3 separate regions of the Homo sapiens genome follow, and regions 2 and 3 are each linked to region 1. The links are contacts of gene promoters, found by promoter capture Hi-C in blood cells and fetal thymus (Javierre and others, 2016). All regions are on one chromosome and are shown on one strand. The core of a region is centred on a gene start or on the middle of the fragment in contact, and the rest is flanking DNA. Distances in the headings are between cores, read along the strand shown. Region 1 holds the start of MAPKBP1 (mitogen-activated protein kinase binding protein 1). Region 2 has its middle 32 kb from the start of PLA2G4E. Region 3 overlaps RTF1 (RTF1 homolog, Paf1/RNA polymerase II complex component).

What was found. Contacts are between HindIII fragments. The CHiCAGO score rates a contact against its expected background, and 5 or more counts as called.
Region 2: a fragment that was not itself captured here is called in contact with the fragment with the promoter of MAPKBP1 in region 1 in 1 of 17 cell types (endothelial precursors); the score reaches 6.7 in endothelial precursors.
Region 3: a fragment that was not itself captured here is called in contact with the fragment with the promoter of MAPKBP1 in region 1 in 1 of 17 cell types (endothelial precursors); the score reaches 6.9 in endothelial precursors.

What each region holds. Positions count from the first base shown.
Region 1 is chr15:41,772,727-41,777,010 of GRCh38, reverse strand. It overlaps MAPKBP1 (mitogen-activated protein kinase binding protein 1), which reads right to left and starts at 2,527. Exons shown (of 31, transcript NM_014994.3): 1 at 2,401-2,527; 2 at 1,622-1,844. The coding sequence starts at 1,735. RefSeq lists an enhancer at 3,031-3,080. The HindIII fragment of the contact is 7,491 bases long and covers 1-4,284 here.
Region 2 is chr15:42,050,995-42,055,460 of GRCh38, reverse strand. No RefSeq gene overlaps it. Among named protein-coding and RNA genes, the nearest start is that of PLA2G4E, 32 kb to the right of the region's middle. The HindIII fragment of the contact is 171 bases long and covers 3,052-3,222 here.
Region 3 is chr15:41,470,756-41,474,945 of GRCh38, reverse strand. It overlaps RTF1 (RTF1 homolog, Paf1/RNA polymerase II complex component), which reads right to left. Exons shown (of 18, transcript NM_015138.5): 8 at 3,597-3,774; 9 at 244-326. Among named protein-coding and RNA genes, the nearest start is that of ITPKA, 21 kb to the left of the region's middle. The HindIII fragment of the contact is 4,459 bases long and covers 573-4,190 here.

The DNA of each region.
Region 1 (4,284 bases), core at 1,278-3,777:
GCTTCCATTAACAACGTACACATACTTCTACAGCAGCACTTACCACACCGTGTTTTAATTGTTTACATGTCTGACTAGCCATAAGCTCTTTGATGGCAAGGGTAATGTTTTACCCATCACTGATTGCACACTTCATAGGCACTCAATAAACACTTGTTAAATGCATTAATAATGGATGATATTGGAAGTCTTAAAGAATGGCAACTATACTTTCTGGATTCCAGACCAAAATTACAGTAAGAATTAACAATGAAGGCTAAACTCTCATTATATGTTTCTACTACATATATCATTCCTGGCCAGAAAAAGAGGCCAAAGATTGGAGAAGATTGCTCTAACAGTGCTGGTCACTGCCAAGCTACCAGCCAAGAATAAGAGCACTTGCAGTATTAAGAATGAACAGAGTCATATCTAAGGCAATTTCTACATTTCAGGCTTCTTTGCCTGCCTCAGGAGAATAGAAACAATGATGAATAAGAGACCTTGGAAGGGTCACAATGTCCACCATCACAAAACCTTGTAGCAAACTGTGATTCAACACAACTTCTGCTGAAATATACAGGAAAGCTCTTCACCTTCTTACCAAATCTACTCAAAGTTCTGCTAAGGAACACAGGGCTGAACTAAGTCCTCCCAGAACCCTGCCATTTGTACAGTGGCATTCTAAATCATTCCTCATGGGATTTACTCATCACTGAAGAGATACAGGCAAAGCAATACAATGCTGTGGTCTCAAATGCCTCTCCCTGTAACAACCTTGTACCTCACAACCCTATTGGGTTTACAGGCTACTAATAAGACACAAAATCTGATCTGATCCTGTGGGAGTAAAGCCCTGGATTCCCTCAAGGGATTAAATAAATGTCGACTACTTCTGGATTCCCAAAGTTGTGGGGTTTATTTAGTTGAAAAAGCATAAGGACCAAAACACAGACAAGTGAAGCGATGGAAAGGAACTTTGCCTCTGAGGATCATCTGCAGCTGAGTGGGATGTGGCTCTTGGCATATAGTGAATGAGATAAGCAATGCTCAAGGGCCATCCAGAACTGTTTTGCTGACAGATATCTGGCTTCTTGCATGTTATTCCTAAGAAGCCAAAAGGCTCCAGTTAGCCTCTTGAAGAGACAAAAAAAATTTGTTTTCACCGTAGGCAAGAGCAATTACCAAGCCAGTAACTCTGACTAGGTGTTTTAGCATATTTCTTTCTGCCACTACAGTCTTACATAACCCCAGCTGTTACGTTAACACCTGCAGCTACATTAGTCACAGCTTAGCCCTTCACAAGGTATGTGTTCCTACTGTCCTCTCCCAAGAAGGGAAACTGAGTCATAGCATATCAACTGGCTTCCCAAGCACATGCTTAGTGTATAGTGAGGCCACAATTGAACCCAGGTGGTCTTCCTACTATTCACCTTTTCTCATGGATGAATCTCAGCATGCCCACCCCTGCTGCTCTTTTTCCTTCAACCTAAAACCAAATCATTGCCTGCAGAGATCATATGTGATCCTTTAGAGTCAACAAGGGCTTCTAGTTATCTTTCCCAAGAAACAGGAAGGTTAACGAGGAACATGGAGCAGGAGAGGGTGGGTTTGGAAAGAGGTGGATCCCAACAGGACTCACCTTGGAGCTGAGGTCCTCTCGTCGGTTTCCTGCCTTACTCCTGCGCAGTTTGATGGATGGAGATCTCAACAGATTCTTGATCCGGCTGGTAATGGTTGACCCTTCCACAGCCATTATGACGAGAAACCCTTTGGGACAGTCCCCGGCCCAGTCCTGGGTCTTGTCTCAACAGCGGCACTGTCTTCCCACTCCAGAGGGCTTCCCAGTATGCCCTCTCACTGACCTGAGATGGCAGAAGCCACCTTAGTATCACAGTGTCTTACCTTCTGCCTAGCGAAGTCTGCAGCTTTTACCTCTGGGTATTGCTCTCACCATTTCCCTCATCCCCACCTTCTAGCCCTGCACAGTTTCTTACAACGTCGGAAGGAAAGGCTCACGAAAAAGGGGGGGAAAATCCTAAGCCACGAAGAAATGCCAGGCCCACGCCCGCCAGAGGCGTTTAACTGGCGAGATGGATGGGATGGGCCCCAGTTGGTCTCGTGGACGATCTGGTTCCCGTTAATGCCCAACTGTTCCCATGGCAACTGTAGTGTCCAAGGGAGGAGGCCGCCGAGACCACCAGGGATTTCCGCAGGCCTGGACACCTGCGCTAGCGCCGGCGGGGACGCGGCGGGGCTCGCCGTAGCCCACAACTCGTTCTGCCACGGGAGCCTCCCTCCCCCACTCCCTATCCTCCAGAGCTCGCTCTCCGCCCTCCACAGCGGCTCTGGACCTTTATCTTTCACCCGCCTCTGAGGCCCCTGCTACTCGTCAGCGCCCCCGTTCGGGCCCAGCCTCACCAGCCTCGGCGAGCTAAGGCCACCCCGCTCACAGCGCCCTCGGGCATCGCGTTCGGCAATTTCAGCTCCGCCGCGGTAGCCGCAGCGGTAGAGGCAGCAGCAGGAGCTATGGTGGCACGATCGGCTCAAAACGCGAACTACCGCCTGGGCCAAGCCGCGGGCTGGGTGGGCGGAGCCGACGCGAGGGGCGCGGCCTGTAGTCAGGAGAGCGCTTCCAGAGTGGACGAGCAAGGTTTACGGGGGCGGAGCCAATGAAAGGGCCCAGGAAGCAGACGGCTTGGGACTAGGGAACCACGGAATCCGCACAATTGCGGGTACCGCTTTTAGAGGAAGGTCAACAGAACATGGCTTCAGAATTGAGAGAACCAAGCCTTTTATGGTATTATCAGGCCTGGTCCCCCATGGAACTGCACTTCCCAGAGCCCCAAGACGATAACCACGCCTCCAGGGTGTTAAGGTTGTCATCTGATAGGCCCGAGGGACCGTAGCTGAAACTCCTAGCTCAGAATTACAAGACTGAGCTACAGCCTAAAAGCTCTGCTCCCAGCGACCACAAGTGTTGAGATTTAAAGCGACTGAAGTAGTTTCTGCTCGCAGCCAGTCCGGCACGTAGACTCAACGTGGAAAGGATTATTCTGAGTAATGCAATTTAATAGCTAAGAACAGTATTTTTGCACTGGGCAACCTGGTCATCATGAAAGGGGAAAGGGTGGCCTTGAACAGAGCTTTGGGCGTGCGGGGGAAAGAGAAGTGAATATGCTATGTTATAATACTTTAGGTTTCATGGCTTCTTTAGCCTCCAACATCCCATTGTGCTTCCTCACCTAAAGCTGACCAGGACTTTGTTGCTCCAGATCTTTTCCTCATTCCATTTACTTATGAATCCTTTTATCTAGGGCTGTTCCTTGCTGAGGTCACTGTCGAGCTTGCTGATACTAGATCGAGGGGTAGTTTTCTAACTCATGTCGGGGGAGGCAGAGGGAATACACGGAAATGTTACATGAAATAGTATTTCCTGAGTATTCTCCACTTGACTACTACCACAAGAAATCACCTTATGAAAAAGCCTAAGCCAGAGACTTGGGTCCCAAGGGAATAGTACACTGGTGTGTCCGTCTCACCCTATCCAGATCTTTTGAATCCCTGTGGAGATGACATGTGTCTGCAAGAGGGAAGAACCTCTAACAAATTATTATACCTTATGAAAAAGCCTAAGCCAAAGACAAGGGACCCAAGGGAGTACTACACTGGTGTGTCTGTCTCACCCTATCCAGATCTTTTGAAACCCTGTGGAGATGACATGTGATAACAAGAGGGAAGAACCCCTAAACTCATTGCTTGTGTACAACGGTGAGCCTTTAGAGCCAAGTGGCAAAGCACATATTTTCTTGTGTATACTGTAGCCACGTACTGAAAATTAGATTTGTAAAGCTCACAAGTTGACATGGAGATGATGGATGTCACCTCCTGGAGACCAACTGGCAATAGCACGTGGCCTTCTTCCCTTCAACCATGCACTGCAAATATTATGAAACAGAAAATACGATTTTCAAATTTATTTCCCAAGTCTGGAAGAAGAAGGCAAGAACCATTAGCTACAATATGCAAGAGGTAGTTGGTTCCTTCAACCTCTTGGTAGTTACATGATGGGACCTCTCCATGGGATTGAAAGCTAATAAATGGTGCCACCTGGTGTCTTTACTTGCATGCTGCAGACCACGGCAGATGCCATCTCCACCCATGAAACTAGAGTAAAAATGTGCCCACAAGAGCCGTCCCTAATCCTCTCCAGATCATTCTGGTGTCCGCTAACGGTTTTCTCACCTGATCACTCATGGCCAGATAAATGGTTTACAAAGTATCACTGGTCATTTCTTTCATGAA
Region 2 (4,466 bases), core at 1,888-4,387, 280 kb before region 1:
TTTAAACAACTATTTTAATGTAACAAAGCTTCCTGACATTTTAACCATACCATGGAAAATGCCTTTTCTTTATGTTTTCTTTTTGCAATAAAAAATAAAAACAAATAATCAGTCCTTTATCCAATGCAATGAACATTACTTTTGTGAATAACCAATGCAAAATGAAACCAACCAAAATTTCACATGATAAACTTTTAGAGAACCACATCTTAAGAATAAAAAAATTGTCCTGGCAAAAATTAGACTTGTAAAGAGATAGCGGCCACAAAGAAAAGGTAAAACCCATCATAAAGGGTATGATTTCATGGTGTGTGGAAAAGACTTGGTCCCAACGAAGATAAGCAGCAAAACTGGAAATTGCTAAGTATTATTCTATTAAAAATAATCAAGAAGATCAAGAAATTAAATTGGCTTAATTGAATTTGCTCCAGAAAATACATTTTTCTCTTTTTCTTTTCTTTAAACTTATGTATACAGCCCACTTTTACCCACCAGATTCTATTCTACTCCCTATTCTACATCTTAGGTATTTTTCATAAAACGTTTTCTAGATAAGACTTTATTAAATTAGGATACTTCTCATAAAAGCATTTAAGCTTAACAGAATGAAGTTAAAATTTCCCCAGGGATGTAAAAAAGGGAGAAGCTCAAACATATACACATCAAAGCCACACATCAGAGCCCAACATTCCAGTCCTCACTGTAGCCTTCTCAGCTTGTTCTGTTTTTCACCATTAAAAGCTGTCGTTACTGGTCAGGTGCGGTGGCTCACGCCTGTGATCCCAACACTTTGGGAGGTGCAGGCAGGCGGATCACTTGAGGTCAGGAGTTCGAGACCAGCTTGGCCAACATGGCAAAACCCCATCTCTACTAAAAATATAAAAATGTGCCTGTAATCCCAGCTACTCGGGATCCTGAGGTAGGAGAATCTCTGGCACCTGGAGGTTGCAGTGAGTTGAGATCATGCCACTGTACTCCAGCCTGGGTGACACAGTGAGACTATGTCTCCAAAAAAAAAAGAAAAAAGCTGTCATTACTTCTGCAAATCTTTCCAGGCCTTGCCTTGCTTTTCTTTCTTTCCTCTGTCTCCTCCTTCCCTCCCTCCTTTTCTCCTTTCCATTTTCCCTTAACTAAATGTGTAGGGTAATAGTGTGCCTCTAGGTTTTGGAAGCTGAGGACTTACTTAGTGAGCGTTCTATCCACCTGTAGATCTTCCATTTTAGGAATTGAATAAGAAAAAAAAACTAACAAATACAAAAAATACACATAGTCCTGTGGAGCCTATTCTAGGAGTGGCCAACTGTGGGGCCACCCAGGGCCTGGCTGGGCAGGGAAGTGGGGAATTTGGCAGGACCAGTGGCCAGGTGCCCTTGAGGGATTCCGGGCACATGGTGCTCAGTGCAAGAATGTTTGTTGGAGCTGTTATTTCAGCTGAGGTTAAAATTCTTTGTTTGGCTTTTATTTTTAATTTGTAGGAGGTGAATTTTACAGGAGACTAAGCTCAACAAGGCCTGGAGACATCCCCTAGAAACATTTTAAAAGGATAAACATTCAGATACTCCCTGACACCAATCTGGAAATGACATGAGGGCTCGTCTCTGCTCCTGCCCCTGTGCCCAAGTCTAATTTTTTTTTTGCCAGATTGCTTTTTTTATCCCCAAGATATGATTCTTTCAAAGTTTACCATGTGAAATGTGAGCTGGTGTTGGTTTTATTTTGCATTGATTATTCACAAAAGTAATTCTCACTGGAAACTGGATAAAGAACTGATAATTTGTGTTTTTTTCAATTGCACAATAAACCATCACCTATCAATATTTAGTCTAATCCAGGTCTCCCTCTCAAATTCTAAAAGTTTACCTCGAATCAGAAGTTATTCTGGGTCTTACACATAACTTTCTCTTTGACTTCAAGGAAGCTTGACTTCAGAGCCCCCTCCCCTGGCACTAAGTTCCTGAGGGTCTGCAGAGAGGGTCCCCTTTCTCACCCTGTCTGCCTGTCTATCTGTCACCATAGTTCCTGGCTTGGAGAAGTCCTGGAGTCAGACCACGGGAGAGAAAAATAACCCAAGCAACAGGAGGGTCTTCAAGGGCAGGAAGAAAGAACAGGAGAGAGGATGTCCCAAGAACAGGGAAAGGAAGCCTGGCTCCTCCCTGCCTGGGCCCCACACACAGTCTACCAGCGAAGCTGCCCTCTCTGCTCACTCTCCAGCGTGCTACCACCTCCACACTCATCCTGGCTCTCAGCCCTGGCCACCACCAGCTGCTCCAGGTCAGATCCCACTGGTCAGCTGCCTCAAAGCAGCGTCCATTCTGGGTCTCACCTGCACAGTGGGGTGGGCAGAGCTATGAGGAAGAGACCTCTTCCAGGTGCCCCCCAGATGCCCCGGACAGGGCAGAGACCTCTGAGTGGCAGTGCCTGGGCATCCTTTCACCTTGACTAAGCACAAAACACATCTACCAAAAGAAATCTTGAACGACCCCATTCTGATCTCTGTATTTATTTTTTAAATTACAATCAAGGTAAGATGTAGAAAAATGAGAATACCGAGGTACACTTGGTTATTCCACTCACTAATCCTCACTAGTTTTCCATTATAGCTTGACCTTCGTATATTTTCTTTTGTGGCTACTATTGCTTAGCAAGTCTAATTTTGTTTTTTTGTTTGTTTGTTTGTTTTTGGGTTTTTTTTTTTTTTTTGCCAGGTTGGTTTTTTATCCCCAAGATACGATTCTTTCAAAGTTTACCACGTGAAATATTAGCTGGTGTTGGTTTTATTTTGCACCGATTATTCACGAACGTAATTCTCACTGGAAACTGGATAAAGAACTGATAATTTGTGTTTTTTTTAATTGCACAATAAACCATCACCTATCAATATTTAGTCTAATCCAGGTCTCCCTCTCACATTCTAAAACTTCACCTTGAATCAGAAATTATTCTGGGTCTTAACACATAACTTTCTCTTTGACTTCAAGGAAGCTTGATTTCAAACACCTTTGTATCTACATATCTCCATCCACATAACTTTTTTTCTTCCAATGTCAAGCTTCCTTTCTCCCTTGTGGCAAAATAAAAAGTAAAATATTATAGCCATGTCTGGCATCTGCACACTCCCTCCATGAAGAGTTGCCTTTTCCCCAGTCACTTGCCGGCACTGGCTTCTAGTAAAGACCTCCAGAACAAGGCCCCTAAGAAATGGAAAACGTAAACCAACAAGCTTTGTAAACTGTGAAATGTGGTGCAGGGAAGAGATCTGGCAACTCTTCAAGTCAATTCCAAACTGATATTTTTACAATGCATTTTCCATTTATTTTATTTCAAAGTTTACTTTTTATTGTTTTATTCCAAACTGCCTTTGCTTTGTAAGGGAACCAAGTGTGTGCTTGACGAATGTCAACTCCTTTTATCCTTATTAGCACTGCCATTCAAGCTATTTTTTCCTATATAGCACAAACGGAAAAATGACACTTTATAACCGTCTCCTACCCAAACACATGACTGGTCAGTCTAAGTGTGGGTCTGGCTGTTGCTTGGTTTATTGATTGATTGAGACAGGGTCTTGTTCTGTAGCCCAGGCTGGAGTGCAGAGGCACAATCTCAGCTCACTGCAACTTCAACCTCTTGGGCTCAAGCGATCCTCTCACCTCAGCCTCCCAAGTAGCTGGGACTACAGGCACGCATCGCCATGCCCAGCTAATTTTTGTGTTTTTAGTAGAGTCAGGATTTCGCTAAGTTGCCCAGACTGGTCTCAAAGTCCTGGGTTCAAGCGATCCACTCGCCGTGGCCTCCCAAAGTGCTGGGATTATAGGCATGAGCCACTGCACCCAGCCTGTTGCTTCATTTCTGATAGGGCTATTTGGGCCAGAGACACCCACTGGAAAACCACAGCCTCAGAAAGAGAGGGGGACAGCGGGATACTCCCAACTAGAGAGGATGCTGGGTGCCTCAGAGCCAGCACACAGAAAGACAGGAAGATGAACATTTCAAATGTATGTTAAAAACAGTTGTAAACAGAACATAAAGAAGCGTTCTTAATTTTTTTTTAATTTTTGTTTTTAACATGGAACTAGGACACATCCCCGTTAAGCTGCCAGATATGGCATCTATTAAACCAAAGAGAGCCAGAGTAAATGATTAAATTCTATTCTGGCCTGTGGCCCCACCATCAGCTCTGAACACAAGGCTAGGTATTTATTTTCAGGGGTTAAAATAGAGATCTGGGGGTGTCAGGCAAGACCCAAATGAGTGGCTTCACCCACCCAGGAAAGTGAGGCTCCTTCAGGGGCCTGGATGGCCTCAGCCATTTCACCCCCAGCCCTCTCTCCCTCCCTCTCCCACTGACATATTGAGTTTCGCACTTTAAAAATAGCTCTGCAGCACTAAGAAGCTTTCTCTGAGCGTGGATCCCAGCCCTGAAACGCAGGCCTCCCTTGACGGAGAACTGTCCTATGTGAGCATAATGC
Region 3 (4,190 bases), core at 1,553-4,052, 300 kb after region 1:
TAACCACACATTTCCTTTCTCTGTGTCCTACCCCTTCATATATTTGGTTCCCTCTAGAGGAGAGAATATCCTACCTTCCCTATAGACAAAGATGGAATACAAGTCTCCCTCCAAGTGTACCTTGTGGGGATTGCATACATAGCGTTCATGGTAACAAGGAACATCACACAGAGAGAACAGCAGCCCCCAAAGCCAGTGCCTGTTTGAAGTGGAAGCAGAAGCTACCCCAGAAGTGCCTCCTACCGTAGTTGCAGCCCTTTGTTTGTTCTGGTGCCACCTAGTTGGTAAACTTTGGCAGTTTCCACAACACCCGTAATCTCAGCGACCTAAGTGAGAGGACAGAGACGCCAGTCAAAACCAGACTCTTCCGGAGCTTTCCACAACACTCTTCCTTTGCGTCTCTCTACCTGAACGCAGACAACTGATAGAGTGCTGAGTAGAGTCCACAGCTGCCAGGGGTTCTGAGAAAGGTTTCTCAGGTTTAGAATCCAGATGGCCAAGCACAGGGAGCCTTGTGCCCAGGAGGAGAAAGTGCCAGCAGAAGAGGAGCCCGATGGGGCCCACTGGAAGCTTTTCCTCCAACTAATTCTAACTTACAAGGGATGTATTTGGGATTTCACCAGTTGATTTTTATCAACCAAATGTGAAGACCATGTAGGTCAGTTTCTGTTGCCAAGCATTTCAGGATATGGCATGGCTGCAGGTCCTCATACAAGGGGATAACACACATAAAAACCAGACAAGAATAAAACAAAACAAAAACAATCCAGGCTGGGCGCCGAGGTTCAGGCCTGTAATTCCAGCACTTTGGGAGGCTGAGGTAGGAGGATTACTTGAAGCCAGGAATTTGAGACCAACCTCAGCAACACAGAGAGACCCAGTCTCTCTTTTTTTTTGTTTTTTGTTTTTGAGACAAAGTCTTGCTCTGTCGCCCAGGCTGGAGTGCAATGGCATGATTTTGGCTCACTGCAACCTCTGCCTCCCTGGTTCAAGTGATTCTCCTGCCTCAGCCGCCCAAGTAGCCGGGACTACAGGCACATGCCACCACGCCAAGCTAATTTTTTGTATTTTTAGTAGAGAGGGGTTTCACCATGTTAGCCAGGATGGTCTCGATCTCCTGACCTCGTGATCCACCTGCCTCCCAAAGTACTGGGATTACAGGCGTGAGCCACTGCGCCCAGCCGAGACCCAGTCTCTACAAAAAAGAAAAAAAAAATTAGTTGGGCATAGTGGTGTGCACCTACAGTCCTAGCTACTCAAGAGGCTGTTGTAGGAGGATCGTTTGAGTCCAGGAGTTCAAGGTTGCAATGAGCTCTGATCACACCGCTGCATGCTAGCCTGGGCAACAGGGCGAGATCCTATCTCAAACAGGCTGGGCACAGTGTCTCATACCTGCAAACCTAGCACTTTCGAAAACCGAGGCAGGAAGATGGCTTGAGTCCAGGAGTTCCGGATTAGCCTGGGCAACATGGTTAAGACACTGTCTCAAAAAAAAAAAAAAAACCCAACACCTGGGCCGGGCGTGGTGGCTCACACCTGTAATCCCAGCATTTTGGGAGGCCAAGGAAGGCAGATCACGAAGTCAGGAGATCGAGACCATCCTGGCTAACAAGGTGAAACCCCGTCTCTACTAAAAATACAAAAAATTAGCTGGCATGGTGGTGGGCGCCTGTAGTCCCAGCTACTCGGGAGGCTGAGGCAGGAGAATGGCGTGAACCCAGGAGTGGGAGCTTGCAGTAAGCCAAGATCGCGCCACTGCACTCCAGCCTGGATGACAGGGCGAGACTCCGTCTCAAAAAAACAAAACAAAACAAAACAAAAAACCAACACCAAGCACTTTAGGAGGCTGAGGCCAGAACATCACTTGAGGCCCGGAGTTTGAGACCAGCATAAGAAACAGAGAGAGGCTGTTGCTACAAAAATTTTTTTTTAAATCCCAAAGTGAGGCCGGGTGCGGTGGCTCACGCCTGTAATCCCAGCACTTTGGGAGGCCGAGGCGGGCGGATCACGAGGTTAGGAGATCAAGACCATCCTGGCTAACACGGTGAAACCCCATCTCCACTAAAAATACAAAAAATTAACCAGGCGTGGTTGCGGGCGCCTGTAGTCCCAGCTACTGGGGAGGCTGAGACAGGAGAATGGCGTGAACCTGGGAGCCAGAGTTTGCAGTGAGCCGAGATCGTGCCACTGAACTCCAGCCTGGGCCACATAGCGAGACTCCGTCTAAAAAAAAAAAAAAAGAGACTCAGTCTAAAAAAAAATCAGCCAGGCGTGGTGGCGCATGCCTGTAGTCCCAGCTACTTGGAGGCTGAGGCATGAGAATCGCTTGAACCCAGGAGGCAGAGGCTGCAGTGAGCCAAGAGCGTGCCACTGCACTCCAGCCTGGGCAACGGGGTAAGACTCTGTCTCCAAAAATAAAAAACAAAAAATTAAAAATAAGGCCGGGCTCAGTGGCTCATGTCAATAATCCCAGCACTTTGGGAGGCCGAGACAGGTGGATCACCTGAGGTCAGGAGTTCAAGACCAGCCTGGCCAACATGGTGAAACCCCATCTCTACTAAAAATACAAACAGTAGCCAGGCACGGTGGCGGGTGCCTGTAACACTAGCTACTCGGGAGGCTGAGGCAGGGGAATTACTTGAACCCAGGAGGCGGAGGTTGCAGTGAGCCAAGATCGTGCCATTGCACTCCAGCCTGGGCGACAAAAGCGAAACTCTGTCTGAAAAAAAAAAACAACAAATAAATAAAAATAAAAATAGGCCAGGTGCGGTGGCTCACGCCAGCACTTTGGGAGGCTGAGGCAGGTGGATCACAAGGTCAAGAGTTCAAGACCAGCCTCGCCAACATGGTGAAACCCCGTCTCTACTAAAAATACAAAAATTAGCCAGGTGTGGTGGCATGCGCCTGTAGTCCCAGCTACTTGGGAGGCTGAGGCGGGAGAATCACTTGAACCCGGGAGGCGGAGGTTGCAGTGAGCCAAGACCACGCCATTGCACTCCAGCCTGGGTGACAGAATGAGACTCCGTCTCAAAAAATAAAAATAAAAAAATAATAATAATGGTAAAATAAAATATAAATAAATAAATAAATAAATCCCAAAGTGTTGGGATTACAGGAGTAAGCCACTGTGCCCAGTCCACCTAGACCACAGAAGCAGTGCTGGAACCTACATAATAACCTGTATTAGTCTGGAGGGTTTTTTTTAACCTCAATACAATTCCCTGGTGTAGAAGTCACTTGGTATGCAACATGAAACTTTTCATTCATTGGTTTTTCAAATGAACAAATCTTTTAGATTATGTAACTCCCAATGAACACTTCATAGATGCCTCCCTTCTCCCTTTTATACTGAAGGGAGAATAGAGAAAATTATTCTACATCCAAATCTTCCAGGCCCTTGGGCTCCAAGTCCTCCTCTTGGCAACAAGTCATGAAGGATTCCTGGGCACCTCACTGCTCTATGGGGATCCCACTTGGAGTCTACTTTCCATCAAATGCTGAGAGAAGAGTGATCGATTTTTTCAGTAGCTCCTGCCCTCAGTTGAGACTAATTATACTGAAAGCATGGACAATTGTCCAAGGGAAGAAATACCAACCCGGTAAACTGGTTTGCTGTTGTGGTTTCCGATGCCAATCCGCACAAAACATCCTGTGACAGTTTTAGCAAAGAAGGGCATGTGACACCAGCGTTCTAGCTTATGCCGTGATAATCGAACCCGATTCAATTCTTCAGGTAAGGAAACTGGTTGGGATTTGGGAGGGATCTCTTCTTTCCTAAGAGGAACAAAGGGGCACTGGAAAAAATGTTCATCATAAAAACAGAACAAGACAGAAAAATAATATCAACTCCTCAAAACTTAACCAAAGTACATGTGACTGGCCTAGGAGGAGAAGTAAATGAAGCACCAGCAAAGACTTGTAATAGGATCCTGTTCCTGACCAGTAGTATGAGCTGTTTCAAATGAGGCTGCCATCTTAGATAACCCATCAGAGTAAGAAAATGAATGAGCCTGTAATCCCAGCACTTTGGGAGGCCGAGGCGGGCGGATCACGAGGTCAGGAGATCGAGACCATCCCGGCTAAAACAGTGAAACCCTGTCTCTATTAAAAATACAAAAAATTAGCCGGGCGTAGTGGCGGGCGCCTATAGTCCCAGCTACTTGGGAGGCTGAGGCAAGAGAATGGCGTGA